Regions from separate parts of the Homo sapiens genome. Here all the other regions are linked to region 7. The links are contacts of gene promoters, found by promoter capture Hi-C in human tissues and cell types (Jung and others, 2019). All regions are on one chromosome and are shown on one strand. Each heading gives the region's core, a stretch centred on a gene start or on the middle of the fragment in contact. The rest is flanking DNA. Distances are from core to core; before and after follow the strand shown.

What was found. The method cuts DNA at HindIII sites, captures the fragments that hold promoters and counts their contacts. A contact is called where the count stands out against the background at its distance.
Region 1: a contact is called between the fragment with the promoter of NDUFAF1 here and the fragment with the promoter of VPS18 in region 7, in 3 of the 25 tissues and cell types used here (lymphoblastoid cells, spleen and stomach).
Region 2: a contact is called between a fragment that was not itself captured here and the fragment with the promoter of VPS18 in region 7, in 1 of the 25 tissues and cell types used here (lymphoblastoid cells).
Region 3: a fragment that was not itself captured here is called in contact with the fragment with the promoter of VPS18 in region 7 in 7 of the 25 tissues and cell types used here (IMR-90 fibroblasts, dorsolateral prefrontal cortex, heart left ventricle and 4 more).
Region 4: a fragment that was not itself captured here is called in contact with the fragment with the promoter of VPS18 in region 7 in 3 of the 25 tissues and cell types used here (liver, lymphoblastoid cells and spleen).
Region 5: a fragment that was not itself captured here is called in contact with the fragment with the promoter of VPS18 in region 7 in 1 of the 25 tissues and cell types used here (spleen).
Region 6: a fragment that was not itself captured here is called in contact with the fragment with the promoter of VPS18 in region 7 in 1 of the 25 tissues and cell types used here (lymphoblastoid cells).

The regions. Positions count from the first base shown.
Region 1 is chr15:41,401,215-41,404,898 of GRCh38, reverse strand. NDUFAF1 (NADH:ubiquinone oxidoreductase complex assembly factor 1) reads left to right here and starts at 2,403. Exons shown (of 5, transcript NM_016013.4): 1 at 2,403-2,755. The HindIII fragment of the contact is 27,298 bases long and covers 1-3,684 here.
Region 2 is chr15:40,523,360-40,527,358 of GRCh38, reverse strand. It overlaps a transcript of CCDC32 not described here. Among named protein-coding and RNA genes, the nearest start is that of CCDC32, 40 kb to the left of the region's middle. The HindIII fragment of the contact is 5,556 bases long and covers 1-3,999 here.
Region 3 is chr15:41,165,348-41,168,911 of GRCh38, reverse strand. No RefSeq gene overlaps it. Among named protein-coding and RNA genes, the nearest start is that of INO80, 51 kb to the right of the region's middle. The HindIII fragment of the contact is 6,382 bases long and covers 1-3,564 here.
Region 4 is chr15:41,203,680-41,207,291 of GRCh38, reverse strand. The region is part of intron 7 of EXD1 (exonuclease 3'-5' domain containing 1); the gene reads left to right. Among named protein-coding and RNA genes, the nearest start is that of EXD1, 25 kb to the left of the region's middle. The HindIII fragment of the contact is 8,031 bases long and covers 1-3,612 here.
Region 5 is chr15:41,289,017-41,293,127 of GRCh38, reverse strand. The region is part of intron 2 of OIP5-AS1 (OIP5 antisense RNA 1); the gene reads right to left. Among named protein-coding and RNA genes, the nearest start is that of OIP5-AS1, 8.4 kb to the right of the region's middle. The HindIII fragment of the contact is 4,813 bases long and covers 1-4,111 here.
Region 6 is chr15:41,305,904-41,309,839 of GRCh38, reverse strand. OIP5 (Opa interacting protein 5) reads left to right here. Exons shown (of 5, transcript NM_007280.2): 5 at 1-567. The coding sequence ends at 86. It overlaps OIP5-AS1 (OIP5 antisense RNA 1), which reads right to left. Exons shown (of 5, transcript NR_152821.1): 3 at 1,216-1,273; 4 at 999-1,120. Among named protein-coding and RNA genes, the nearest start is that of OIP5, 25 kb to the left of the region's middle. The HindIII fragment of the contact is 3,593 bases long and covers 1-3,472 here.
Region 7 is chr15:40,892,468-40,896,506 of GRCh38, reverse strand. VPS18 (VPS18 core subunit of CORVET and HOPS complexes) reads right to left here and starts at 2,057. Exons shown (of 5, transcript NM_020857.3): 1 at 1,648-2,057; 2 at 428-569. The coding sequence starts at 1,738. RefSeq lists an enhancer at 1,242-1,331 and a silencer at 2,172-2,341. The HindIII fragment of the contact is 19,251 bases long and covers 1-4,039 here.

The sequences.
Region 1 (3,684 bases), core at 1,154-3,653, 510 kb before region 7:
GACTCTGCTAAAAATACAATAATCAGCTGGGTGTGGTGGCATGCACCTCTAATCCCAGCTACTCAGGAGGCTGAGGCAGGAGAATCACTTGAACCCGGGAGGCGGGGGTTGCAGTGAGCCGAGATCACGCCACTGCACTCCAGCCTGGGTGAGGAAGACTGTGGTTCAAAAAAAAAAAAGCAGCAAACAACTAATGATTAGAGACATGCAAATCAAAACCAAAATGAGATACCACTTCACACTCATTAGGATGGCTACTATATTTTAAAAACCAAAAAAACAAGAAACGTGTCAGTGGGCTTGGAAAGAAGGTGTGAAAAGATCAAAGATCAAAAACAGCAAGAGAATGCAACAGGATTTAAAATCAGTAAGAGAAGATTTTAAGGAGAGGAGCCAAGGACAGTCAAGCATTTCCATCCTAGAAGGATGTGGCCATTTACAGAAATAGGGAGACAGGAGGAATTAGTAGGAGGAAAAATGACACATTTAGTTTTAGACATTTAGTTTTCTTTATTGCTCAAGGATATTTCCTAAAAAACAACAACAAAAAGACATTTCGATTTTTTCTTTTTCTGAGACGGAGTCTGGCTCTGTGGCCCAGGCTGGAGTGCAGTGGTGCGATCTCGGCTCACTGCAAGCTCCGTCTCCCGGGTTCACGCCATTCTCCTGCCTCAGTCTCCTGAGTAGCTGGGACTACAGGCGCCCGCCAGCACGCCCGGCCAATTTTTTTGTATTTTTAGTAGAGACGGGGTTTCACCGTGTTAGCCAGGATGGTCTCGATCTCCTGACCTTGTGATCCGCCCGCCTCGGCCTCCCAAAGTGCTGGGATTACAGGCGTGAACCACCGCGCCCGGCCGATAACTTATATTTGAAACTAGAAAAGAGGTAGAGGCAGGATGGGCCATGGAGAGACAGCCCGCATTAAAGGTTGTGGGAAGAGAATAGAAGAGTCAGTGATGGGGGCAGAAAGGTAAGGTTTGAGGGGGCAAGTGTAGAGTCTAGAGAAGCCAAGCCGAATTTGAGGAAGAGGAGGCGGCGCGGAAACTAGTGAAGGAGAAAACATGGAAAGGGCTAGTGTATTTAGTGAGCTCCTTCGGAACCTTAGAGAACAAAGGTGTTACGGAACTATATGCTCTCAAATTCACACTAAGCACTAAATTCCCGCCGCTATGGTACATTCTGGGGAAAGGAAAAACAGCGCAGTCTGGACCCAAGAAAGCTCACAGCGTGGCAAAGGAAGTGAGAAGTGAGTGAAAGATACAATGTTGATTCTGTCTTCCCTGGCAGTAAGAAAAAAAAACAAAAACAAACAATGTTTAAGTGCTTTGGCCGGGCATGGTGGCTCACGCCTGTAATACCAGCACTTTGGGAGGCCGAGGTGGGTGGATCATGAGGTCAGGATTTCGAGACCAGCCTGGCCAACATGGCGAAACCCCATCTCTACTAAAAATACAAAAATTATCCGGGTGTGGTGGCACACACCTGTAATCCCAGCTACTTGGGAGGCTGAGGCAGGAGAATTGCTCCAACCCAGGAGTCGGAGGTTGCAGATCGCGCCACTGCACTACAGCCTGGGCAACAGAGTGAGACTCCGTCTCAAAAAAAAAAAGTGCTTTAAGAGAGGTGTGCACAAGGTACAAACAGATGCCCTGAGCAACTGGCGACCGTGTGGGGCGAGACTCGGGAAGGGCTGGTAGGAGGGGCTGCTGTCCAGGTGCGTGGTGGTCCTCAAGAATTCATGGGGGCAATTCCAGCAGAATCGGCCTTTTGAGGCCTCAGGCAGTTCTTGTGGGGACCGAGGCGACAGATAAGGAAGGAAGGGATACAGGCGCGTTAGCAATAACTGGGTTCTATTTGAAAGACGCAGGGGGCCGGGCTTGGTGGCTCGCGCCTGTAATCTCAGCACTTTGGGAGGCCGAGGCGGGTGGATCACGAGGTCAGGAGATCGAGATCATCCCGGCTAACATGGTGAAACCCCGTCTCTACTAAAAATACAAAAATTAGTCGGGCATGATGGCGCGCACCTGTAATCCCAGCTACTCGGGAGGCTGAGGCAGGAGAATCGCTTGAATCTGGGAGGCAGAGGTTGTAGTGAGCCGAGATCGCGCCACTGCACTCCAGCCTGGGCGACAGAGCGAGAATCCGTCTCAAAAAAAAAAAAAAAAAAAAAGACGCAGGGATGGAGTTTGCCGCCTGAAAGGATACAGGAAGGAGAGGCGAAAAACTTATCTGAATTCTCACTGCTTCCTTACAACTGGCGACCAAGTGGACCAAAAACCTCCAAAAACCTCAGTTGGCTGGGCTACGGGGTCCTTGCTGTCCTTCCTGGGCTTCTGTACTCGGCCGGAACTTTGGTGTTCTGACGCCTTGTTTGGCATCGGAAGGGAAAAGCAGATGGACCTATACGGGTAAAGTGGCTTCTGGGCGGAAGGTACACTATAGGCTCGGGGAGGTAAGCGGCGGCAGGCCGGCGGTTGGTGTGTCCCGGGTGTGGGGAGGCGACAGAGCCCTGGCACTTGAGGGTTGAGGGGGCCTCCCCAGCGCGGCGAACCGTCTAGCCTCCGGAGGCCAGGCCGTGAGTGCGGGAGGTATACGCCAAGGCGGAAGAATTTTGCCACTCACTACCTGTGTGACCTCGGGTAAATTAGCCTTGGAACGTCAGTTTCTTCGTCTCTATAATTGAAATAATAATAGTACCTCTCTCAGGATTGTTGTGAGCCGTCAGTGAAACACTTAGAGCAGTTTCTGGCACATGGTAAGGCATGGATAGCTTTACTAATTCTACTCACTTCTAGCTGCGTGGATTGTGTTGTCAAAACCCACCGTCAACCTCAGGGCGGTATTGTCCAGTTAATAGTTTAGATTTTCTGTTTACTGGTAGAAAAAAAAAAATGAAACAAAGCATTTATAATTAAAGTTATATTATTAGAGAAGTAACACTACGGAGGGTTTGGAAAACATTTTATGAGCTATCATTTGTTTCTCAAATTTCGGTATGTGTAGAGGTAAAATCATTTAAGTGCAACCGGCGCGGGGGAATTTAAATATTATCCATAATTCCGGGACCTCAGATCAACTGTTAATTTTTCCTGGTTCCCTTAACGTTTATAATACATGTGAAAACATACTGTTTACATGGTTTTGATTTATCAACAAACCTTATTGATAATGTCGGCTGGGCGCGGTGGCTCACGCCTGTAATCCCAGCACTTTGGGAGGCCGAGGCGGGCGGATCACTTGAGGTCAGGAGTTCGAGACCAGCCTGGCCAACATGGTGAAACCCTGTCTCTACTAAAAATACAAAAATTAGCTGGGCGTGGTGGCGCACGCCTGTAATCCCAGTGACTGAGGCAAGAGAATTGCTTGAAACCAGGAGGTGGAGGTTACAATGAGCCGAGATCGCACAACTGCACTCCAACTTGGGGGACAGAGCTGGACTCTGTCTTAAAAAAAAAAAAAAAAAAGTTGGGCATGGTGGCGGGCACCTGTAATTTCAGCCACTCGGGAGGCAGAGGCAGGAGAAGCACTTGAACCCGGGAGGCGGAGGTTGCAGTGAGCCAGGGTCGTGCCATTGCACTCCAGCCTGGGTGACAGAGCGAGACTCCATCTCAAAAAAAAAAAAAAAAAAAAAGGTTGGGCGCCGTGGCTGACGCCTGTAATCCCAGTACTTTAGGAGGCCCATGT
Region 2 (3,999 bases), core at 1,426-3,925, 370 kb after region 7:
TCTCTACTAAAAATACAAAAATTAGATAGGCATGGTGGCCCACATCTGTAGTCCCAGCTACTCGGAAGGCTGAGGCAGGAGAAATGCTTGAACCCGGGAGGCAGAGGTTGCAGTGAGCTGAGATCGTGCCACTGCACTCTAGCCTAGGTGACAGAGTGAGACAGTGTTACAAAAAAAAAAAGCAGTTCGAGACCAGCCTAGGCAACACAGTGAAAGCCTGTCTCTACTAAAAATACAAAAATCGGCCCAGCATGGTGGCCTGCACCTATAATCCCAGCTACTTGGAAGGCTGAGACGGGAGGATCATTTGAACCTGGGAGGCAGAGGTTGCAGTGAGCTGAGATCACATAACTGTACTCCTGTATCGGTGTACTGCTGCTCTGGCAAGACCCTGTCTCAAAAAAGAAAGTAAAATAAAAAATTCAGTATATTTACTTTATTATTATTATTTTTATGAGTCAGAGTCTCGCTTTATCACCCAGGCTGGAGTGCAGTGACGCTCACTGCAACCTCCACCTCCCAGGTTCAAGCGATTCTCCTGCCTCAGCATCCTGAGAAGCCAAGACTACAGGCACATGCCACCATGCCCAGCTAATTTTTGTATCTTTAGTAGAGATGGGTTTTTGCCATGTTAGCCAGGCTGGTCTTGAACTCCTGACCTTAGGTGATCTGCCCGCCTCGGCCTCCGAAAATGCTGGGATTACAGGTGTGAGCCACTGCGCCCAGCCAGCACATTTGTTCTAATTAAGCAGTTTCCCTTATAGGAGTCTATTAGAAATATTTACAAATGTGTACAAGGTCATATGACAAAGGCATTCACTGCAGCATTACTTGTAATGGAAAAGTATATGGAGACAATCTGAATGTCTAAAATTAGTTAAATTCTGGAGTTGTGAAACTGCCTTGCTATGGACTACCATGTGACTGTCAATAATAATGATGGAGATCATTATGTACTGATGTGGAAAGATTTTATGCTTTTAAGAAAAAACAGCAAGTTACAGTATTATTTTCAGTTATATAAAACAGTACCTGGCATACAGTAGCTAATCAATAAATATTTATTGAGCTGAAAGAGCATGAGCCCAGCCTGTTAAAAACAAATGACCCCCCAACACACACTTACAAACAAGCCCACATATTTTCATGAAAAAAAATGTTCTGGAAGGACAGTAACCACTGTCAATTGTGTTTATCCCTAGTGCATGAGCAGCTTTAACTTTCTCTGGCTCTGGTCTACACAGCCCACATTGTGTGAGGTGAGGCCGCAGTGGGCCCACACAGGCACCAGGCAGTTCACAGGTGTTGTTGCAGAGGTCTTTCGTCTGCACTCTCAGTGGGAAAGAACAGTAAAGCCCAACCACCCCAGCCACCATCCACGGTGACTTGCAGGTCATGGAGAGAAAAAAAAAAAAGGCCAAGGACAAAGATATGTAATTATTGACACTATTTTATTTATACCTAAGGAGAGACACCAAAGTATGAGCATCCAAGGGCCAGGGCATTGGGTGGACCAGACATTATGGGTGGGTGGCTTCTAAGGCTTGGAGAACCCAGGCCAGAGGCCACCCAGTATTCCCTGAGCACCTGTGGCTGAATCCTGAATGTCCTGGGTCTCTGCACTCAAAGCTTAAGGGAGAAACAAGGGGTGTCAGGCAGGGTCAGCTCTGAGGAGCAGGCGAGGTCCCAGTGGCCTGCCAGGGTGAGGTCAAAGGAGCTGAGGTCTGGGTAAGAGGACACTTCAGGTCAGTTACAGTGGCCTGAGAAGGACTGGTAGGCCTCCCTGAGGTCTTGGAAATAAGTCTAAAAGAGTGTGGCTTTAGAATATTTAGAAGGACTTTTTCAGAATTTAGGAGACATAACATAGTTTGGGGAGACTTTAGAGGAAGAGTGCTCAGCCATACATGGTGGCTCATGCCTGTAATCCCACCACTTTGGGAGGCTGAGGCGGGCGGATTACCTAAGGTCAGGAGTTTGAGACTAGCCTGGCCAACATAGTGAAACCCTGTCTCTACTAAAAATACAAAAATTGGCCGGGCGCAGTGGCTCACGCCTGTAATCCCACCAATTTGGGAGTCGAAGGTAAGTGGATCACGAGGTCAGGAGTTCGAGACCAGCCCGGCCAAGATGGTAAAACCCCATCTCAACTAAAAATACAACAAAATTAGCCAAGCACAGTGGCAGGCGCCTGTAATCCGAGCTACTCTGGAGGCTGAGGCAGAATTGCTTGAACCCGGGTGGCAGAGGTTGCGGTGAGTTGAGATTGTGCCACTGCACTCCAGCCTGGGCGACAGAGTGAGACTCCATCTCAAAAAAAAAAAAGAACAGCTTGGCTGGGCATGGTGACTCATGCCTGTAATCCCAGCACTTTGGGAAGCTGAGTGAGGGGAATGCTTGAGCCCCAGGAGTTGGGAGACCAGCCTGGGCAACATAGCGAGACTCTGCCTCTACAAAAAATTAAAAAATTAGCTGGGCATAGTGGCATAGGCCTGTAATCATAGCTACACAGGAGGCTGAGGCAGGAGGATTGCTTGACCCCAGGAGGTCGAGGCTGTAGAAAACCTGAGCAACAGAACAAGACCCAGTCTCCAAAAAAAAAAAAAAAAAAAAAAAAAAAAAGAAAGAAAAAGAACAGCTTGATGAATTTTTCCAAAGGTATACACACATGTAACCACCACCCCAATGAAGACAGAGCCTTTCCATCATTCCAGAAAGTTCTCTCATGCCTCTTTGCAGCCAATTGCCCCAACCCCCATAAGCCCCAGGCAACCACTGATCTGCTGTCCCTATAGCTTAGTTTTGTCCATTCTAGAATTTTACATAAATCCAGTTATACAGTACATACTCTTTTGTGTCTGGCTTCTTTCACTCAACATAATATTTTTAAGATTATGCATGTTGTGGCTGGGCGCGGTGGCTCAGGCCTGTAATCCCAGCACTTTGGGGAGGCCGAGGTGGGCGGATCACGAGGTCAGGAGATCGAGATCATCCTGGCTAACACGGTGAAACCCCGTCTCTACTAAAAATACAAAAAATTAGCTGGGCGTGGTGGCGGGTGCCTATAGTCCCAGCTACTCGGGAGGCTGAGGCAGGAGAATGGCGTCAACCTGGGAGGCTGGAGCTTGCAGAGCCGAGATCGCGCCATCGCACTCCAGCCTGGGCGACAGAGCCAGACTCCCGTCTCAAAAAAAAAAAAAAAAAAAAAAAAAAAAGATTATGCATGTTGTGTGTATCAATAATTTGTTCTTCTTTTAAATTACTGACTTGTCTTTAATTGTTCTGGATATACCACAATTTACTTATCCATTCTCCCGTCAACTGATATTTGTGTCCAGTTTTTGGCTACTGTGAATAAAACAGCTATGAACATTCATGTACAGCTGTTCTGTGAATATACATTTTCTTTTATCTTGGGTAAATACCACAAAATGGAACTACTGTTATGTCTGTTAGTTTTATTTTTAAAAACTGCCAATATGTTTTCTAAAGTGGTTGTCCCATTTAACACTCCCACCAGCAATGAATGAGAGTTCTAATTGTTCCATGTGTTCATCAGGACTTGGTAGTATCAGTCTTTAATTTTAGCCATTCTGGTGGGTGTGTATTTCACTGTGGCTTTAATTTGCATTTCTCAGTTGGCTATTGATATTGAGCATATTTTCATTTGTTTATTGACCCTTTTTATATCCTATTTAATAAACTATCTTTTACCTATTTACTTTTATAATTCAAAAAATTTGTTCAACACAATTTTACTGAAGTAGTTGAGGTAATTATGGTTATTTCCTTTTTACAGGTAAGGAAAATAAATCCAGAGAGACTTATCCACCTTTTCCTTTTTTTTTTTTTTTTTTGAGATGGAGTTTCGCTCTTGTTGCCCAGGCTAGAGTGCAATGGCGGGATTTTGGCTCACCACAACCTCCGCCTCCCAGGTTCAGGCAATTCTCCTGCCTCAGCCTCCTGAGTAGCTAGGATTACAGGCATGCGCCACTATGCCTG
Region 3 (3,564 bases), core at 542-3,041, 270 kb before region 7:
AGTTTGAGACCAGCCTGACCAACACTAAGAAACCCTGTCTTTATACTAAAAATACAAAATTAGCTGGGTGTGGTGGTGCATGCCTGTAATCCCAGCTACTCAGGAGGCTGAGGCAGGAGAATCACTTGAACCCGGGAGGCGGAGGTTGTGGTGAGCTGAGATCTCGCCATTGCACTCCAGCCTGGGCAACAAGAGTAAAACTCCTTTTCAAAAAAAAAAAAAAAAGGTAAAAGCCCGGGTGTAGTGGCTCACGCCTGTAATCTCAGCACTTTGGGAGGCTGAGGTGGGCGGATTACGAGATCAGGAGATCAAGACCATCCTGGCGAACACAGTGAAACCCCATCTCTACTAAAAATACAAAAAGTTAGCCGGGTGTGGTGGGCACCTGTAGTCCCAGTTACTCGGGAGGCTGAGGCAGGAGAATGGCGTGAACCCAGGTGGCGGAGCTTGCAGTGAGCCGAGATTGCGCCACTGCACACTCCAGCCTGGGCGACGAGCGAGACTCCCTCTCAAAAAAAAAAAAAAGTAAACAGGAAGAGATACACACAGAGACCAAGAAGGAGAAGACAAATAGGAAGAAAATCAGAATAGTATTATGTAAACCAGAAACCTCATTTGTAGTTTGATGAACTCTCATTGTAAGTTATATCAACCACAAATTATTTTTAACGGTTTTACTAAGATATAATTTTTTTTTTTTTTGAGACAGAGTTTCACTCTTGTTGCCTAGCCTGGAGTGCAATGGCTTGATCTCAGATCACTACAACCTCCGCCTTCTGGGTTCAAGCGATTCTCCTGCCTCCTCCCAAGTAGCTGGGATTACAGGCATGCACCACCCCGCCTGGCTAATTTTGTATTTTTAGTAGAGCCAGGGTTTCACCATCTTGGTCAGGTTGGTCTTGAACTCCCGACCTCAGGTGATCCACCTGCCTTGGCCTCCCGAAGTGCTGGGATTACAGGCGTGAGCCACCGCGCCCGACTGATATAATTTTTTTTTTTTTGAGACAGTGTTTCACTCTATCACCCAGGATAGAGTGCAGTGGCGAAATCTTAGCTCACTGCAACCTCCACCCTCTGGGGTTAAGTGATCCTCCCACTTCAGTAGCTGGGACCACAGGCGTGCACCACCATACCCAGCTATTTTTTTGTATTTTTAGTAGAGACAGAGTCTCGCCATGTTGCCCAGGCTGGTCTCGAACTCTTGGACCCAAGCGAACTGCCCACCTTGGCCTCTTTTTCTTTCAAGTCAAATGATTTTGTTAGACTATGTTTTGGTGTTGGTCATTCTGGATCACCATTTTCAGATACAGTGTGATTTTTAAAATATGCTGTATAGTTTTTTGTTTGTTTTTTAGAGATGGGGTTCTTATTATACTGCCAAGGCTAGACTCCAACTCCTGGCCTCAAGTGATCCTCCCAAAGTGCTGGGATTACAGGCATGAGACGCCCTGCCCGGCCATCTTACATAATATTCTTAATGCATTTTAGCTTTTTATGCACCAATATATTAGAGTGTTCATCTATTTATTTTTTATTTTTTTTATTTTGAGACACTCTCACTCTGTCACCCAGGCTGGAGTGCAGTGACATAATCACTGCTCACTGCAGTCTTGACTTCCTGGGCTCAAGCAATCTTCCCACCTGAGCCTCCCAAGTAGCTAGGACTAGAGGCATGTGCCACCATGCCCAGCTAGTTTTCAAAAAAAAATTTGGGGCTGGGCGCAGTGTCTCACACCTGTAATCCCAGCACTTTGGGAGGCCGAGGCAGGCGGATCACAAGGTCAGGAGTTCGAGACCAGCCTGGCCAGTATGGTGAAACTTCATCTCTACTAAAAATACAAAAATTAGCCAGGCACTGTAGCATGCGCCTGTAGTCCCAGCTACTCAGGAGGCTGAGGCAGAAGAATCGCTTGAACTCGGGAGGCGGAGGTTGCAGTGAGCCGAGATCACGCCATTCCATTGCAGCCTGGGTGATAGAGCAAGACTCCATCTCAAAAAAAAAAAAAAAAGGGGTTTCTTTGGGCCAGGCATGGTGACACATGCCTGTAATCCCAGCTACTGGGGAGGTGAGGCAGGAGAATCACTTGAACCCAGAGGTGGAGGTTGCAGTGAGCTGAGATCACGCCACTGCACTCCAGCCTGGGTGAAAGAATTAGACTTCGTCTCAAAAAAAAATTTTTTTGGCGGGGGCAGACAGGTTCCCACTATGTTGTCCAGGCGGTCTAGAACTCCTGGCTTCAATCAGTTTTCCTGCCTTGGCTCCCCAAAGTGCTGGCATTACAGGTGTGAGCCACCACATCAGGCTAGGCTCAATTAATTTTTTAACTTCACAGAGCTTCCTATTTTGTTGTTTTTGTGTAGTGTTAAAATCACAGTTATTTGCTTTCTGAGATTTCTTGGCTTTGTCTTCTTCCCTAGTACTTTTATCTCTCTTTCCTTTCTGTTTTCCCTACCCTGCTCAGTTTTTGTTCCATTTCTAGAAGTTTCTCCCCAGTGTGTGAACTTGTCCTGGAAGGGATCCATGGTTGGTTATTATACAGAGCTTATAGGGTCTAGACTGTTCAAGCCTGGGTATACCTTCAGACTGTGGGATCCTTTCATGCAATTGCTATTGGAGTGAAAAAACCCCTTTTGGTTTCAGCTGTTGTTCTCAAATTGGCGCTTAACACTCTCTAGTGAATACCAATTTTCTTCTTAGGTCTGTCAGATACCCCATTGCTTCCCTCTACTGTTTTTCCCACATGGTTGTCAGTATCTCTTGGGTTGTCCCCACCTCTTTGCAATTTCAGGTTTATGAGTTACTTCATCACCCAGTATGTTGTAAATATTGTTCATGGGTTTGGAGTTTTGTCCTCTAATTATTCTGTTTTTACATGGGGATTTGAGAAGATCTAGAAAGTATGCCACCGTTACCACCCTGCCATCTTCCCAGAATCTTGGTATATACTTTCCTTGCTTCTAAAAGGCCTAATACTATGGCTTCCATCTTGGGTGCACTCTTTCTGTCAGATCACTTGTTCTGGTTGCCATGTTGGGAGAATACTTTTGGGAGGATTCGGCCCGACAGAGAACCAAGGACTCCAGCCGACAGTCTGTGAGGGACTATGTCTTCATCTCCCACAACCAAACAGTGGTCATTCCTCTCCAGTAGATCCTCCCCAGTCAAGCCTTCAGGTGACTACAGTCCAGCCTATAGCTTGACCACAAACTTATAAGAGAACGTGAACCAGAATCATCCAGCTCAGCTGATCCTGGATTCCTGACCCCCCAGAAACTGGGAGATAATAAGTATTTGCTGCTTTTTTTTTTTTTTTTTTGCTTTTGAGAAAGTCTTTATTTTTCTGTTATGAATAATTGAATTTTCTAATTATCCCAAATGATTTTATAAATTCCATAACTTTGATATGCCTGCCTGGGATCCATGAAATAAAAGTATAATTCCTTACCAAAAGAGAAGCATCATATACACTGAAAGTCTCCATGTTTCATATTTTCAAAAATAAAAGTGACTGTATACCCTTTTATTAACTATATGGTAGCTTGGTAAAATTTTTATATAATTTT
Region 4 (3,612 bases), core at 410-2,909, 310 kb before region 7:
GGGATTACAGGCATGAGCCACCACACCCTGCCAGAGGCACTACTTTTTTTTGAGACGGAGTTTCACTCTGTCGCCCAGGCTAGAGTGCAATGGCACAATCTCAGCTCACTGCAACCTCTGCCTCCTAGGTTCAAGCGATTCTCCTGCCTCAGCCTCCCGAGTAGCTGGGACTACAGGCTCCCGCCACCACGCTCGGGTAATTTTTGTATTTTTAGTAGAGACGGGGTTTCACCACGTTGGCCAGGCTGGTCTCGAACTCCTTACCTCGTGATCTGCCCGCCTCGGCCTCCCAAAGTGCTGGGTGTGAGCCACCACACCTGGCGCAGAGGCACTACTTAAAAAAAAAAAAAAAAAAAAAAAAAGAGTTGAATAGGGCAGGCACAGTGGCTCATGCCTGTAATCCCAGCACTTTGGGAGGCTACGGTGGGCAGATCACAAGGTCAGGGGTTTGAGACTAGCCTGGCCAACGTGGTGAAACCCCGCCTCTACTAAAAATACAAAAATTAGCCAGGCGTGGTGGCGCATGCCTATAATCCTAGCTACTAATGGTGCTGAGGCAGGCGGATCACTTGGACCTGGGAGGAGGAGGTTTCAGTGAGCCGAGATTGTGCCACTGCACTCCAACCTGGGCAACAAAGCGAGACTCCTTCTCAAAAAAAAAAAAAAAAAAAAAGAATTGAATAACAGGATTGTTATATTTGTGCAGTACTTTACAGTTTACAAAATACTTTGACAAACATTAGGGGAGTCAACTACTTTTAACACATTGAAATGTAGTTTCTGCTATTTTCCTGTTTCTTTTTTTTTTTTTTTTTTTCGAGACAGGGTCTCTCTGTTGCCCAGGCTGGAGTGCAGTGGTGCAATCTCTTGGCTCACTGTACTGCATCTCTGCCTCTCAGGTTCAAGGTATTCTCCTGCCTCAGCCTCCCAAGTAGCTGGAATTACAGGCACTCACCTCTACGCCTGGCTAATTATTGTATTTTTAGTAGAGACAGGATTTTACCATGTTGGCCAGGCTGGTCTTGAACTTCTAACCTCAAGTGATCTGCCTGCCTTGGCTTCCCAAAGTGCTGGGATTACAGGCGTGAGCCACCACCCCTGGCCCGGATTTTCCTGTTTCTAATAACATGCTTATTGCTTTCTCTTGATTTATCAGTTTTACACATAATCTATTCAATTTTATTGTGATAAATAAAGATTTTGCTCCTTTATTGCACCCACTCTTCCCTAGGTCTTTCCAACTTAGTTATGTCACAATTTTTTACTAAGACAGAATTCAGAATTTATGGGAGGCTGAGGCAGGAGAATTGCTTGAACTTGAGAAGTGGAGGTTGCAGTGAGCCAAGATCATGCCCCTGCACTCCAGCTTGGGCCACAAATGAGACTCCATCTCAAAAAAAAAAAAAAAAAAAGACCAAATTTAGTCTATATGTTATTACGACTGTAATGATAACTCTCTGCTGAGTCAAGGAGAATCGTTTCTCTTCTTGAACAACTTTTTGTTTTACATAGAGTTAGTAATTGCCTCATTTTATTCCTCCCTCCCTCCCTCCCTTCCTCTCTTCCCTCCTTCTCTCCTTCCCTCCTTCCTTACTTTTTTGAGACGGGGTCTCACTCTGTTGCCCAAATGGGACTACAGGCACATCCCACCGTGATAGCTAACTTTTTGTATTTTTTGTGGAGACAGGGTTTCACCATGTTGCCCAGGCTGGTCTCAAACTCCCAGACTCAAGCAATCTACCCAGCTCAGCCTTCCAAATTGCTGGGATTACAGGCATGAGCCACTGCACCCAACCAACTTTGTTTTCTTTATACCTATGACTAAGCTGTTCCATATCTTTAAGGATGCCATACAGTTTTTTCACATGCTTAAATTTAGTGGGCTAGGGCCAAGCATGGTTTCTCATGCATGTGAGAGTGAGACCCTGTCTCAAAAAACAAACAAACAAACAAAAACACGATTCTGCCAACCTATGCTGCATTTTTGTCTTGAAGTCATCTCTCCTGGAGCCCTCTACCCTCCTGTTCCAATGCAGGCTGTTTTCTCAAGCCTGGAAGCTGCAAGATGCAGGGGCCAAGGGAAAATTTTCCCTTTGCCTTCTGTAGGTTTGCTGAAAACTTAACTCACAAAAAGGCAGATTAAGAGGAGAAAAGACACAACAAATTTAACGCGTACATGAGAACCTTCAGAACGAAGACTCAAAGATACACGGGTAATTGTCCATTTTTATGTTTAGGTTCAACAAAGTATGGACAGCTATGGAGAAATATGATTGAACAAAAAGATATGATCTAATGTTAATAGACTGACTGGGAAACCCAGCAAGGCCTGTCTGTCTAGATTCGTCTTGGCTCTCATAGCATGTATTTCTTCTTTCCTGGTATGTAGCGGGACCCTCTATAGAATGGGGATCTATGACCTACTGTCAAATAAGGTGGGTCAGATCATTTTTATGGCCCTTTTTTACATACAGAGGCAGAGGGAAAGTTTTATCTATATGTGTGTGTATGTGTATATGTGTATATATATATGTGTATGTATATATACAAGTACATACATTTTTTGAGATGGAGTCTCTGTTGCCCAGGCTGGAGTATAGTGGCTCCATCATGGCTCACTTCAGCCTTGAACTCCCGGGCTCAAGAGATCCTCCTGCCCCAGCCTCCCAAGTAGCTGGACTACTTGGGACTATAGGTGCATACTACCACACCTGGCTAATTTTTGTTTGTTTTTTGTTTTTGAGATGGAATCTTGCTCTGTTGCCAAGGCTGGAGTGCAGTGGCACCATCTTGGCTCACTGCAGCCTCCATCTCCTGGGTTCCAGCGATTCTCCTGCCTCAGCCTCCCCAGTAGCTGGGATTATAGGTGCCCACCACCATGCCCGGCTAATTTTTGCATTTTTAGTAGAGACAGGGTTTCACCATGTTGGCCAGGCTGGTCTTGAACTCCCAACCTCAGGTGATCCAACTGCCCTGACCTCCCAAAGTGCTGGGATTACAGGCGTGGGCCACCGTGCCTGGCTGATTTTTTTTTTTTTTTTTTTGAGACAGAGTCTTGCTGTGTCGCCCAGGCTGGGGTGCAGTGGCATGATCTCGGCTCACTGCAACCTCCGCCTCCCAGGTTCAAGCAATTCTCCTGCCTCAGCCTCCCGAGTAGCTGGGACTACAAGTGCATGCCACCATGCCTGGCTAATTTTTTTTGTATTTTAGTAGAGATGGGGTTGCACTGTGTTGCCCAGGCTGGTCTCAAACTCCTGAGCTCAAGTGATCCTCCTTCCTTGGCCTCCCAAAGTGCTGGGATTACAGGTGTGAGCCACCGCACCTGGCCTAGAGTAATATTTTTAGGGTTTTTTTTTTTTTTTTTTTTTTTTTTTTGAGGAGAAGTCTTGCTCTTTTGCCCAGGCTGGAGTGCAATGGCACGATCTTGGCTCACTGCAGCCTCCACCTCCTGGTTTCAAGCGATTCTCCTGTCTCAGGCTCCCAAGTACCTTGGATTACAGGAGTGTGCCACCACGCCCGGCTAATGTTTATATTTTTGGTAGAGACGGAGTTTCACCATGTTGGGCAGGCTGGTGTCGAACTCCTGAACTCAAGTGATCCACCCACCTCGGT
Region 5 (4,111 bases), core at 1,122-3,621, 400 kb before region 7:
AGGTCAGGAGTTCGAGACCAGCCTGACCAACATGGAGAAACCCCCATCTCTACTAAAAATACAAAATTAGCCGGGCGTGGTGGTGCATGCCTGCAATCCCAGCTACTCGGGAGGCTGAAGCAGGAGAATCGCTTGAACCCGGGAGGCGGAGGTTGCAGTGAGCCAAGATTGTGCCATTGCACTCCAGCCTGGGCAACAAGAGCGAAACTCTGTCTCAAAAAAAGAAGAAAAAAAAAAAAATTTATGTGGACACCTTAGGTAAGCTAGCTTGTGAGCCAATGATTTTCTGTGCTATCCAGCCTCCAAAATAGCCACCAGTGATTGCTGCCTCCTGGTATTCAGGCCTTTTTACAGTCTCCTCCAACAATGAATCAGGGTTAATCTATGTGACTGTTGTATAATAAAGACTTTGACTGCCCTTTGTTCCTGGAAAGGATACTCTAAATCCTTAGAATTTGGAGTAAATAAGCCAGTGGAAATTAAATAATACACTCCTAAACGAGTCAAAAAATAAATCAAAAAGGAAATTACAAAGTACCTTGAGACAAATGAAAACTTAACAAAAACTTATGGGATGTGGTGAAAGCAATGCTAAGAGGGAAATTTATAGCTGTAAATGCTCACATCAAAATAGACCTCAGCCAGCAGTGGTGGCACATGCCTGTAGTCCCAGCTGCTCAGGAGGCTAAGGTGGGAGAATCACTTGAGGCCAGGAGTGCGAGGCTGCAGTGTGCCATGATCACACCTGAGAAAAGCCACTGAACTCCAGCCTGGGTAACAGAGCAAGACCTTGTTTCTAAAAAGTTGGCCAGGCACAGTGTCTCACACCTGTAATCCCAGCACTTTGGGAGGCCAAGGCAATTGGATCACTTGAAGTCAGGAGTTTGAGACCAACCTGATCAACATGGGGAAAACCCACCTCTACTAAAAATACAAAAATTATCTGGGCATGGTGGCGCATACCTGTAATTCCAGCTACTCGGGAGGCTGAGGCAGGAGAATTGCTTGAACCCGGGAGGCAGAGGTTGCAGTGATCTGAGATTGTGCCACTGCACTCTGGCCTGAGCAACAGAGTGAAACTCCGTCTCAAAAAAAAAGTAAAAAGACCTCAAATCAACCAACCTAACTTTAAAGGAACTAAAAACAATAAGAAAACCAACGAAATCAAAAGCTGGTTCTAAGAGGGTCATGGGACTCTCCAAATCTGTAGCCACTTGGTCGAAAATGCAGGTGGCTGGGGGTACCTCCGAAGTACAGCTGGCATCTGAAGTGAGGACAGTCTTGTTGAGGACCATGCCCTTTGACCTGTGAGGTCTATGCTAATTCTTGGGTGGTGTCAGAAATGTATTGCCATGGCCAGGCTCAGTGGCTCATGCCTGTAATCCCAGCACTTTGGGAGGCCAAGACGGGCAGATCACGAGGTCAGGAGGTCGAGACCATCCCAGCTAACACCGTGAAACCCTGTCTCTACTAAAAATACAAAAAATTAGCTGGGCGTGGTGGCAGACGCCTGTAGTCCCAGCTACCTGGGAGGGTGAGGCAGGAGAATGATGTGAACCCAGGAGGCAGAGCTTGCAAGTGAGATTGCGCCACTGCACTCCAGCCTGGGGAACAAAGCGAGACTACGTGTCAAAAAAAAAAAAAAAAGAAATGTATTGCCATGTACCACTTGATGTCAGAATACTGACCAACAGAACAAGGAGGAAGTGACAGTGAGTGACTTCTGCGGCAAAGTCATAGAGTAGACTATGGCTTTTGCCTTATTCTCTTAGATTGCTTGTTTAGGGAGAAGCCAGCCACCGTATAAGAGTACTCAGACAGCCCTGAAAGAGGCCTACATTGGGAGGAAATGAAACTTCCCCCTAAACAGCATGAATGTGCCAGCCATGTAAATGTGTCACCACAGAACTCCATCAGACTTCAAGCTTTTTTTTTTTTGAGACGGAGTCTTGCTCTGTTGCCCAGGCTGGAGTACAGTAGCGTGCCATCTCTGCTCACTGCAAGCTCCGCCTCCCAGGTTCATGCCATTCTCCTGCCTCAGCCTCCCCAGTAGCTGGGATTACAGGTGCCCAACACCACACCCGACTAATTTGTGTGTGTTTTTAGTAGAGACAGGGTTTCACCGTGTTAGCCAGGATGGTCTCGATCTCCTGACCTCGTGATCCGACTGCCTTGGCCTCCCAAAGTGCTGGGATTACAGGCATGAGCCACCGTGCCTAGCCAGATTTCAAGCTTTTAAGAGACCCTAAGCCAGAACCTCCCCAGAGCTAAGCTATTACCAAATTCTTGAGAGACGTAATACATATTTGTTGTTGTTTTAATCTACTGAGTTTTGGGTTATTTGTTATACAGCAATAACTAATATACTTTGCTTCCTCTAAGGACAGAGAGAATGATGTATCCCGGGAGTTAGTGCACCTTTTTTACTTCACTATGTAAATAGGGAATTTAGAATATATTTCACAAAACACAATGAATACTATTATCACTATCAATCAAATTAAGTTTATAAGTGTCATATTAAAAAAAAAACCTTCCTAGCTGGGCGTGGTGGCAGGCCTGTAATCCTAACTACTCAGGAGGATGAAGCAGGAGAATCACTTGAACCCCGGAGGCGGAGGTTGCAGCAAGCACCAATGTACTCTAGCCTGGGCAACAGAGTGAGACTCTGTCTCAAAAAAATAAATAATTAAAAAAAAAAAAAAACTTACCAGGCGCGGTGGCCCAAGCCTGTAATCCTAGCACTTTGGGAGGCTGAGGGGGGTGGATCACCTGAGGTCAGGAGTTGGAGACCAGCCTGGCCAACATGGCAAAACTCCATCTCTAATAAAAATACAAAAATTAGCTGGGTGTGGTGGCAGACACCTATAATCCCAGGTACAAGAGAGGCTGAGGCAGGAGAATAGCTTGAACCTGGGGGGTGGAAGTTGCAGCAAGCTGAGATTGTGCCACTTCACTCCAGCCAGGGCAAAAAACCAAAACAAACAAACAACAACAAAAAAACTTGCTGGGCTAGGTGCTCAATTTCTGCCCCCTAGATAGGGATATACTATATCGATGTAAAACTGTTGCTTGAGCAAAAATTTAAGTTGTCATTTATCAAATATTTATTCAGTGCTTCCTTTCTTTGAAAATTCTAAATTATTTATTTGAATAAATATATGCACGAGATAAGGTAAAATAGGGTAAACAGTGTTTCTTGCATATCCTTTTAGGAATATTCTATGGCTACAAAACATCTCTAGAGACATTTCCCACAAATGAAAGCACACTATATATTGTTCTGTACCTTGCTTTTTCTGTTAATGTATCTTAGAGATCATTCCATATCAGGACAAAGTACCAGTCTGTAAGTAAAGTACTACCTTTGATGTACTTTATTTACATCAGTTCTCTACACCATATATATATATATATATATATATATATATATATATATATATATATATATATATTTTTTTTTTTTTTCCCCCTGAGACAGTGTTGCTTTGTTGCCCAGGCAGTGGTGCAATCTCAGCTCACTGCAACCTCTATCTCCCAGGTTCAAGCAATTCTCCTGCCTCAGCCTCCAGAGTAGCTGAGACTACAGGCACTTACCACTATGCCCGACTAATTTTTGTATTTTTAGTAAAGACACAGTTTCACCATGTTGGCCAGGCTCATCTCTAACTCCTGACCTCAAAGAACCCACCCGCCTTGGCTTCCCAAAGTGCTGGGATTACAGGTGTGAGCTAACACACCCAGCCTACAGATGGATATTTAGATTACTATAAATATTGTGCTATACCAATGTCAAGTTTCTATTATTGTCTACTTGGACTTAAAGTTGTAAATCCAAGTGGTAAGGCCTTCTTCACTCTAAAGGGCATTTTGCCTCATCAGTTTTTATTCCCTTTCTTACTACTGATATATATATATCAATCATATATATCATATATACACACACATATATACATATACATACAAAGATTGTTTTATTTTTCAATGTTTTTATTGTGATAAAATACACATAAAATTCACCATATTAACCCTTTCGAGTATACAATTCAGTAGTATTAAGTACATTCATACTGCTGTGCAACCATCACCGTAATCCATCTCCAGGACTCAT
Region 6 (3,936 bases), core at 427-2,926, 410 kb before region 7:
AGATAGTGCTAACGCACAATCGCTTAAAATCACTAATGAAGATTCTGAGTGAAGTGACTCCTGACCAGTCCAAGCCAGAAAACTGATCCTGTACCAAAGCTTGAGTGTCAGGTTCAGGCTTTATTGCTGTCTTCAACAACAGGTGCTGCTTAGTCATTTCTTGAAAAAGATTGGCTTCAAGAATGGAGGGGAAATGCAGTTTCTATTTACCTTTAGGCTGATTTTCCAAATTATTTGTGAAGCTGTTTTTAGAAGATGAGAGACTAAGGATTCTTCTCTTTTATAGCTATTTGCCTTAAGAACTTACTTTAGATTCTTATTGAATTCATAATACTTATCTCTGAAAATGTCTTTGACTGTAAATTTAGGAATTAAGATGCAGAGTCCCATGTGTCCTCTGATCTAAAGTTGCATGGTTGGTCTGAAAATAGAGTTGGGCTTAATGTTGACTTCTATTACTCCTGCATGGAGCAGTTGTTATGAATACTAATACATCACTTTTTAACTTCTGTAAAATACAGATCATAATATTCTATAGGTAATGTTTAATAAATTGCCTGAATAATATACAATTTGTCTTTTTCAGTTGTAAACTGAGGTTAACAGAGAAATAATGAAAGCAATGATAAAACGAAACAGTTACCAAAGTACTATTTTCTATAATTTTGTTTTATGTAGCACTTTGAGTAACTTATCAAAATATTAATTTAATATATATTTGTAAAGTGTTAGACTAGGTGCTGGGGATAAAAGGTAAGCAAAAATAGACACACTATCCTTAGAATTTATAATCTAGTCAGAGAGGGACATTCAAATAATCACATAAAGATACATAAAATTACAGGCCTGGCGCAGTGGCTCACATCTATAATTCCAGATTTTCGGAGGCCGAGGCAGTGGATCACTTGAGGTCAGGAGTTCAAGACCAGCCTCGCCAACGTGGTGAAACCTCGTCTCTACTAAAAATACAAAAATTAGCCAGGCATGGTGGTGCGCACCTGTAATCCCAGCTACTCAGGAACCTGAGGCAGAAGAATTGCTTGAACCCAGCAGGTAGAGGCTGCAGTCAGCCGAGATCGTGCCACTGCACTCCAGCCTGGGCGACAGAGTGAAACTCCATCTAAAAAAAAAAAAAGATATGTAAAATTATGACGCTAGTAAGGGTTTTGAAGTAAAGGAACATAGGGATACACGCACATAAAGCAGGTAACTGACCTGGTCTGGGTTTCTGGGAAAGAAAGCCTCTGTGTAGAAGTGAAGTTTCAGCGGTGGTCTGAAAGACGAATAGGAATTAATAAGGTGATGGAGGGATGACCTTTATGAGGTCCTTAAAAGAAGGCCTGCCTAATCAAATTTACTTTTTCAGAATGTCACTGTGGTTGTCCTGTGGAAAACAGGTGGGAAGGACAGCAAGCAGACCACTAAGGAGAGCCTTTGGCACTAGCACAATCAAGAAATTACATATCCAAGTGGTGGAGGATAGAAAAGCTAACTTGGCTGGGATGTAGCTAGCAGAATATATATATATAAATTTTTTTTTTTTCTTCCCGAGATGGAGTCTTGCTCTGTCGCCCAGGCTGGCGTGCAGTGGCCTGATCTCTGCAACTGCCATCTCCCGAGTGTTGAAGCGATTCTCCTGTCTCAGCCTCCTGAGTAGCTGGGATTACAGGTGCATGCCGCCACGCCCGGCTAATTTTTTGTATTTTAGTAGAGACGGGGTTTCACCGTGTTGCCCAGGGTGGTCTCGAACTCCTGAGCTCAGGCAAATCCACCCACCTTGGCCTCCCAAACTGCTAGGATAACAGGCGTGAGCCACTGCGACTGGCCTGCTTATGCTTTTTTTGAGGGGAGGGTGGTGAGACAGGGTCTCACTCTGTCACCCAGGCCTGAGTGCAGAGGTGTGAACATGGCCCACTGCAGCCTTGACTTCCTGGTCTCAAGTGATCCTCCCAACTGTATCCTGAATAGCTGGCACCACAGGTTTGTGTCACCACGCCTGGCTAATTAAAAAAAAAAAAAAAATTGTAGAGACAAGGCCTCACTGTGGGCTCAAACTGGGCTCAAGGGATCCTCACTTCAGCCTTCTGAAGTGTTGGAATTACAGCGGTGAGCCATTGTGCCAGGTCTGATTATGCGTAGAGTTGCAAAAATTTGGTCCTATAAGCAAGGTTGATGCTTTCTGGCAAAAACCAGCCCAATAAAAGCTTTTACTTTTTAAAGAATAAGACCTAATATAGGCCAGGTGCAGTGGCTCACGCCTGTAATCCCAGCACTTTGGGAGGCCAAGGCGGTCAGATCACGAGGTCAGGAGTTCCAGACCAGCCTGCCCAACATAGTGAAACCCTGTCTCTACTAAAAATACAAAAATTAGCTGAGCATGTGGCGTGTGTCTGTAGTCCCACTACTCGGGAGGCTGAGGCAGGAGAATCGCTTGAACCTGGGAGGCAGAGGTTGTGGGGAGCCAAGATCATGCCACTGCATGCCAGCCTGGGTGACAGAGTGAGACGCCGTCTCAAAAAAAAAAAAAAAAGACCTAATAAGTACCACATTGAGTCACCCCTGGTTGCTCTGGGCGACAGAGCAAGACTCCGTCTCTAAATAAATAAATAAATAAAATTAAATGCTTGACCTTTACGTCAAATTAAACTGGCTAGCTTTAAATAGATTTTTTTCAGATTACATGCTCACTCTAGAAAAAAGAGATGTGTGACAAAATACAGAGTGAAAGTATACTTCTTCCCTTTCTATTTTTTGAGAAGCACAATATAGCATCCTGGTAAGTGAGCAGGCTCTGGAACCAAACTGGATTGAAACTGTGGCTTGGGTACTTACTAGCCATGAACTGGAACAATTTATCTGTTTTAATTTCCTTCTATGTAAAATAGGGATAAAAACTATAGTAATTAGAGCTGTAGTGAGCATTAAATGAGTTAATTAATGCATCTAATGTAATTAGAGCAGTGCTTATCACATAGTTGGTGCTCAATGAATACTATTATTAAACTCCATGTATGTGGATACACAGAGACACAAAATAAAGGCAATTACAAATATGTTAGAAAAAGTATTCCAAAACTCCTTATGGCTGTAAAAGCAGCATTACATATTGAGGTTTGAATGGCTGCCTGTTCCATTGTACAACACACTGGAAACTGCTACAGCTAGGTCTCAAGTAACCTGGTCCTTTGTTCTTTAACATCTGAAGAGTACTTTGGCACAGGTCTTTGGAAAGGCTCCTTCTCCCATCATCAGTATGTACTGCATTATTTAAAATTACCCATTTCAAGTAACGACACACAATGAGATTTCAGTGCATTCTCAGCCCATGCTGCTTTATTGCTAAAATATATATATACACAGGTGCAGAGCTTCCAACTTTTTTAACAGTTCCTTTTTACATCAAAGAATTAAATTTCTTCAAAAACCCCAAAGATGCATAGATTAAGAAGCAAGCTGCCTTTTGTAATACTTAAAATAATATTCAATGAAACTCTTAACGTTATACACCAATGGTGCAATGGAGAATATGGAGGACAGCAAGTAAACACAGTGAGCAACTCTTATTCTTACAAGGCAGTAGGTAAAGTATAATGTGAAGGACAGTCTAAGATAATCTTTCTGGTTATAAGAAATGGGTCGGTTTTGTGATAAGTGCCAAGACTGTTACTGTTTAAGGATTGATGATAATGTATTACCAGAATACCTTTCTTATCCCTGGGAGAAAATATTTTTTCACTGATGGAATGACATATCACCAAGGGAGAAAAAAACCTGAATACTGTCAGTAACTAAGATACCTATTCTGACTTTAAAGAAGATTTAGGACTTCATGGAGAAATCTGTGATGTCTGGTTTCCCAAAATTAAGTATTTTAATGTGCCTTAGTGGAATAATCGGAGGAATTTAGAGAAACTCTGTTCTTAATCTTTACTGGCT
Region 7 (4,039 bases), core at 808-3,307:
GGAGTACAGTGGTGCAAACACAGCTCACTGCAGCCTTGAACTCCTGGGCTCAAGTGATCCTCTTGCCTCGGCCTCCCCAGTAGTTGGGACTGCACCATCACACCTAGCTAATTTTTAAAAATTTGTTTTGGTAGAGACGGGGGTCTCACTATATTGCCCAGGCTGGTCTCAAACTGCTGATTTCATGTGATCCTCTTGTCTTGGCCTCCCGAAGTGCTGAGATGATAGGTGTGAGCCACCATGCCCTGCCAGGCCAGATACTTAACCACTACCCTGTATTGGTTCTCTTTGGAAAGGGATAGGATATTTCCTGAAAACTCCAAATTCACTGCTTTACTTGCCTGGAATAGAAGAAAGGCCCAGTGAGTTAACAGTCCCCAAACACCTCTCTAGTCCCTACTCCTAAGCTCTGTGAGCTCTTGATTACCGGAGCAGTGTATCCTTGCCCAGGCTCATGCACAGCTGATTGCTGGAGACGACAAGACTGGTAATGCGCTCGGAAGGGGTGAAGTCAATGCGCTGCTTTGTGAAGATGGGCACTTCCTTCTCCAGCTGGGCATTCACATACCCTACAGGTAAGGAATGACAAGAAGATTAGCTGTGGAAGAGACAGGTGAAGGGCAAGGAGAGGCAGAAAAAACACCACAGTGCTCCTCGCCACTTTCCTGACATATTCCTATCCCCAGGACCTTGGTTAACAAATAGTTTGATATCAAGTCGTTTGCTGGTCACCTTTACAATAGAGGTCTGGAGCTCTTTCCACACTCTGACAGCAGTGAGGGGTTGATTCTTTGAACCCTTAAGATGCTGTCACAGCATGATATACCTGCTCCCACTGGTAATGGGGCTGCGTGGAGGTGGGACGGGACTGGTGGTCTGGGTATTCTCCCTTATCAGGTCTTTGGCCCAGCAATCCCAGCTTAACTGAAGTAGTATAGCCCCATTCTCTGCCCCCCTCCCTGCCCATGCGGTAATGAGCCTCAGTGTAGAGTTGGCAAGTGCTGGGATATTTTGAGCATTGAATGAAGGTAAAGACTAGAGTGAAAGCAGCTCCAATTCGTTAACTCCACTCACTGGAACAGTTCCCCAGGGCTCCCTATGCCCTCATTCTCCTGGAGACTCACTACTTTCTACAAAAACGTCCCCAAACTCCAGGCTGCACCCAGCTATAGCCAAGGCCAAAAAGATTTCATCTCCATTTTCCCCGTTCAGCGACAAAATTCCCTCTGGGACCCTCCCTTCTTCCTCTGCAATACTCCGCCTTCACCACTTTCTTTGTCCATTCCTTCCCTCCCACCTCCAGAAGGGGCCTGGTGGGAAAAGCATCAGCAGAAGCCGGGAGCCCATTCTAAGTTCTCCCAACAGCCCAACTGCGCCCTGTAGGTGAGTAATTCCTTATCTGGGCCCCAATTCCCTCTCAAAAGGACCCTAGCGGTAGAGCCTAGATCACGCGGCAGCTCCCGTTGCTCTTTCAAACTTCGACTATCCACCAGCTGGGGGCCAAGAGAGCCTGAGGAGAATCAGGGGCCTAGACCCGGAAGGCACGGCCCAGGGGATGACCCCGAGCTCTTGGAGCTGCCCTCCTCGCTGCTCCCACGCAAATGCTAGGAGAGCCGAAAGGGGCAGCGGCACCCTCCTCTTCCTTACCCGAGTGGGGGATGCCCACGCTAGGGCAGCCGGGCTGCAAGACGGCCGAGCGGGACAGCGAGTTCTCGTACTCATCCAGGATGGACGCCATGGTGCCCGGCCTCTGGGCTCTTTGTCCGGGGCCTGGGGATTACAAAAGGGCTACCCCCCCGGGGTCCCCGTCGCCCCAGAATGGAAGCTGTAACTCCCCAGCCTCTGACAGATCCTGGGAACCTGCAGCCGTCGCCTCCTCTTTAAAATCCTGAGGATCCTCTTGCTCTTGCCTTATGCAGCGAGATAATCGGGCAGCCCTCGTCCTTGAATCTGGCGCAGTCTTGCACCTTACTCCCCGCCCCCGCTACAAAAAAATCACAGGCTCCCTTCAGCCGGTGCCAGGTGATCCCAACCTCGCCCCGGCAGCTCAGCTGACTCCCGCCCCCGTGACGCGGGCCTAAAACGTAACTTCCGGGTTCTCAGAGCCCCGCGTACGCTGGCGCACAACGTCGCCGGGCCAGCCAGCAGAAGGCGAGACGAGGGCTGAGGGCTGGGCGCGTGGCGAGTGCTGCTGAACACAAGCCCCGCCCCCAGGATCCTGCTGCAGTTCCGAGCTTTGACACCAGGAGGCAATCCCGGCTTTCTCAGCCGGCCTTCCCCACCCGCCCCGCGCCGCCCAGTTTTGGCTTTCGTGCCCAAGCTCCGCTCCCTCGGGTGGTCTGTCCAGCCTCCCTGACCAGCTCCCGCTCCCGCCTCTCTAAACAGCCTCGGGGAACCTCCCGTTCCTCAATCCAATCGCTGTCTCTATCCCACCGTCACAGGGCACACGCAGACAACTCCTGGCCACTCTTCTCCCTTACCCAAAGGCCCCCCAGCTTCCAGGAGACCGCAGAGCTGGTGGCCAGGCTAGTGGGAAGCCCTGTGCCAGGAACCGCCCTGACCTGCCCCACAGTGGCTCCTTGGCTCAGGGTTGCTGGGCCGCTTCCATTCACTCATTCACCAAAATGTGGTTGAGCACTTACTCTGTGCCAGGCCTTGGGCTGGGCGCTGGGGTCACAGAGATGAGGACAGCCCCTCCCCGCCCTGGAAAAGGTCGTAAGCCAGCAGGGGCGCTGGACCCGTAAATAGACCATTCATACTAGAAAAGCAAGTGATGGATTATCCATCAGGCACTTACTCCACGAATGAGCGTCCACTCTGTGCCAAGCACTGTTCCAGGCTCTGGGGACGTGGCAGAGAACAAGACGGAAAATGTCTCTTGCCTGGTGGGGCGTACCCAGCGACGTGGCCACGGCACTGAGAGCGTGAAGGAGCAGGGAACAAATACCTGCCAAGCCTAGCAAGAACGAGGGACAAGTGGGAGCAAGCGTGAAGGCGGGGGCCGCCCAGCCTGAGGTGGAGAGGGGAGTCCTCAGCCAGGGACCTGCGAGGGCTGGGGCGCGACTGTGGTTGGGTTTTCCTCTCTCACCTGCTTAGGCGACCCAGATGGAGTCTGTTCCCTTCTGGGGCCCTTGGATTCTACCTTGCTAAAGTGGAAGGCTCTGGACTAGGGTCGCCACCGTCCTGGCTCTGCTGGGCGGCCCCCGCCTAACAACTAAGAGCATCCCTTTGCTCTCAGAAGTTTCCAGGTTTGCACCATACCTTATGTGGTTGGGTTACTCTTGCTCAACTTCCTGGCCACGTGCGGAGAACTGTGACTCTCACCAGCCCCACTGAGGGCTATCTGGGCTCTCTGGCTTGGAGGGGCACTAGTCCTGGGGCAGGTGACAAGTATGCTGTCCAGGCTCATTTCCCTTCGCACCAGGGTCCTGCTTCTCTTGACCAAGCCTGCAGCCTCAATGCAGCCTTCCCACCTGAGGTTGCCAGGTCCCAGGAGGGAAGTGCAGGAGCAGGACAATAGGCAGGAGGCTTCCTCTAAGAAAAGTGATCCCAGACAGGGAGCTGCCCTGCTCCATACATAACACTTCACCCCCAGGTCACCTGCCATCTGCCCTCAGGTCTGGACTGTGCAGAGGGTTGTCCCTGCTGCACAGAGCCCATTAGCAGTTGGAGGTCAGCATAGGAGTGCTGCCTTAGGGACACAGAGTACTTCCAGCTACAGCCTCAGGGACCCCAGCACCCCATTGTTGGGCTCCATGGCTCTCCGGGATGTATGGGATAGGCCTGGGTGGACCCTGTTTGTGGCAGACTCAGTACAGTCTCCCTTATGCGTTGATTACCACAGTGCATTTCCACCTACTCATTCTTCAGTTCTTAGGCTGGACTTTGGATTCTTTGAGAGCCACAGAATCAAGTGTGGCAGTTGCAATGAGACAGGTAAGGGATGACTGCTAGGGCATCAAAAGAGAGGATTCCTGTATGAAAGCAGCTGAATTTGACCCAAGACTTGAAGTGCATGTATGATCTCCAAGGGCAAGCT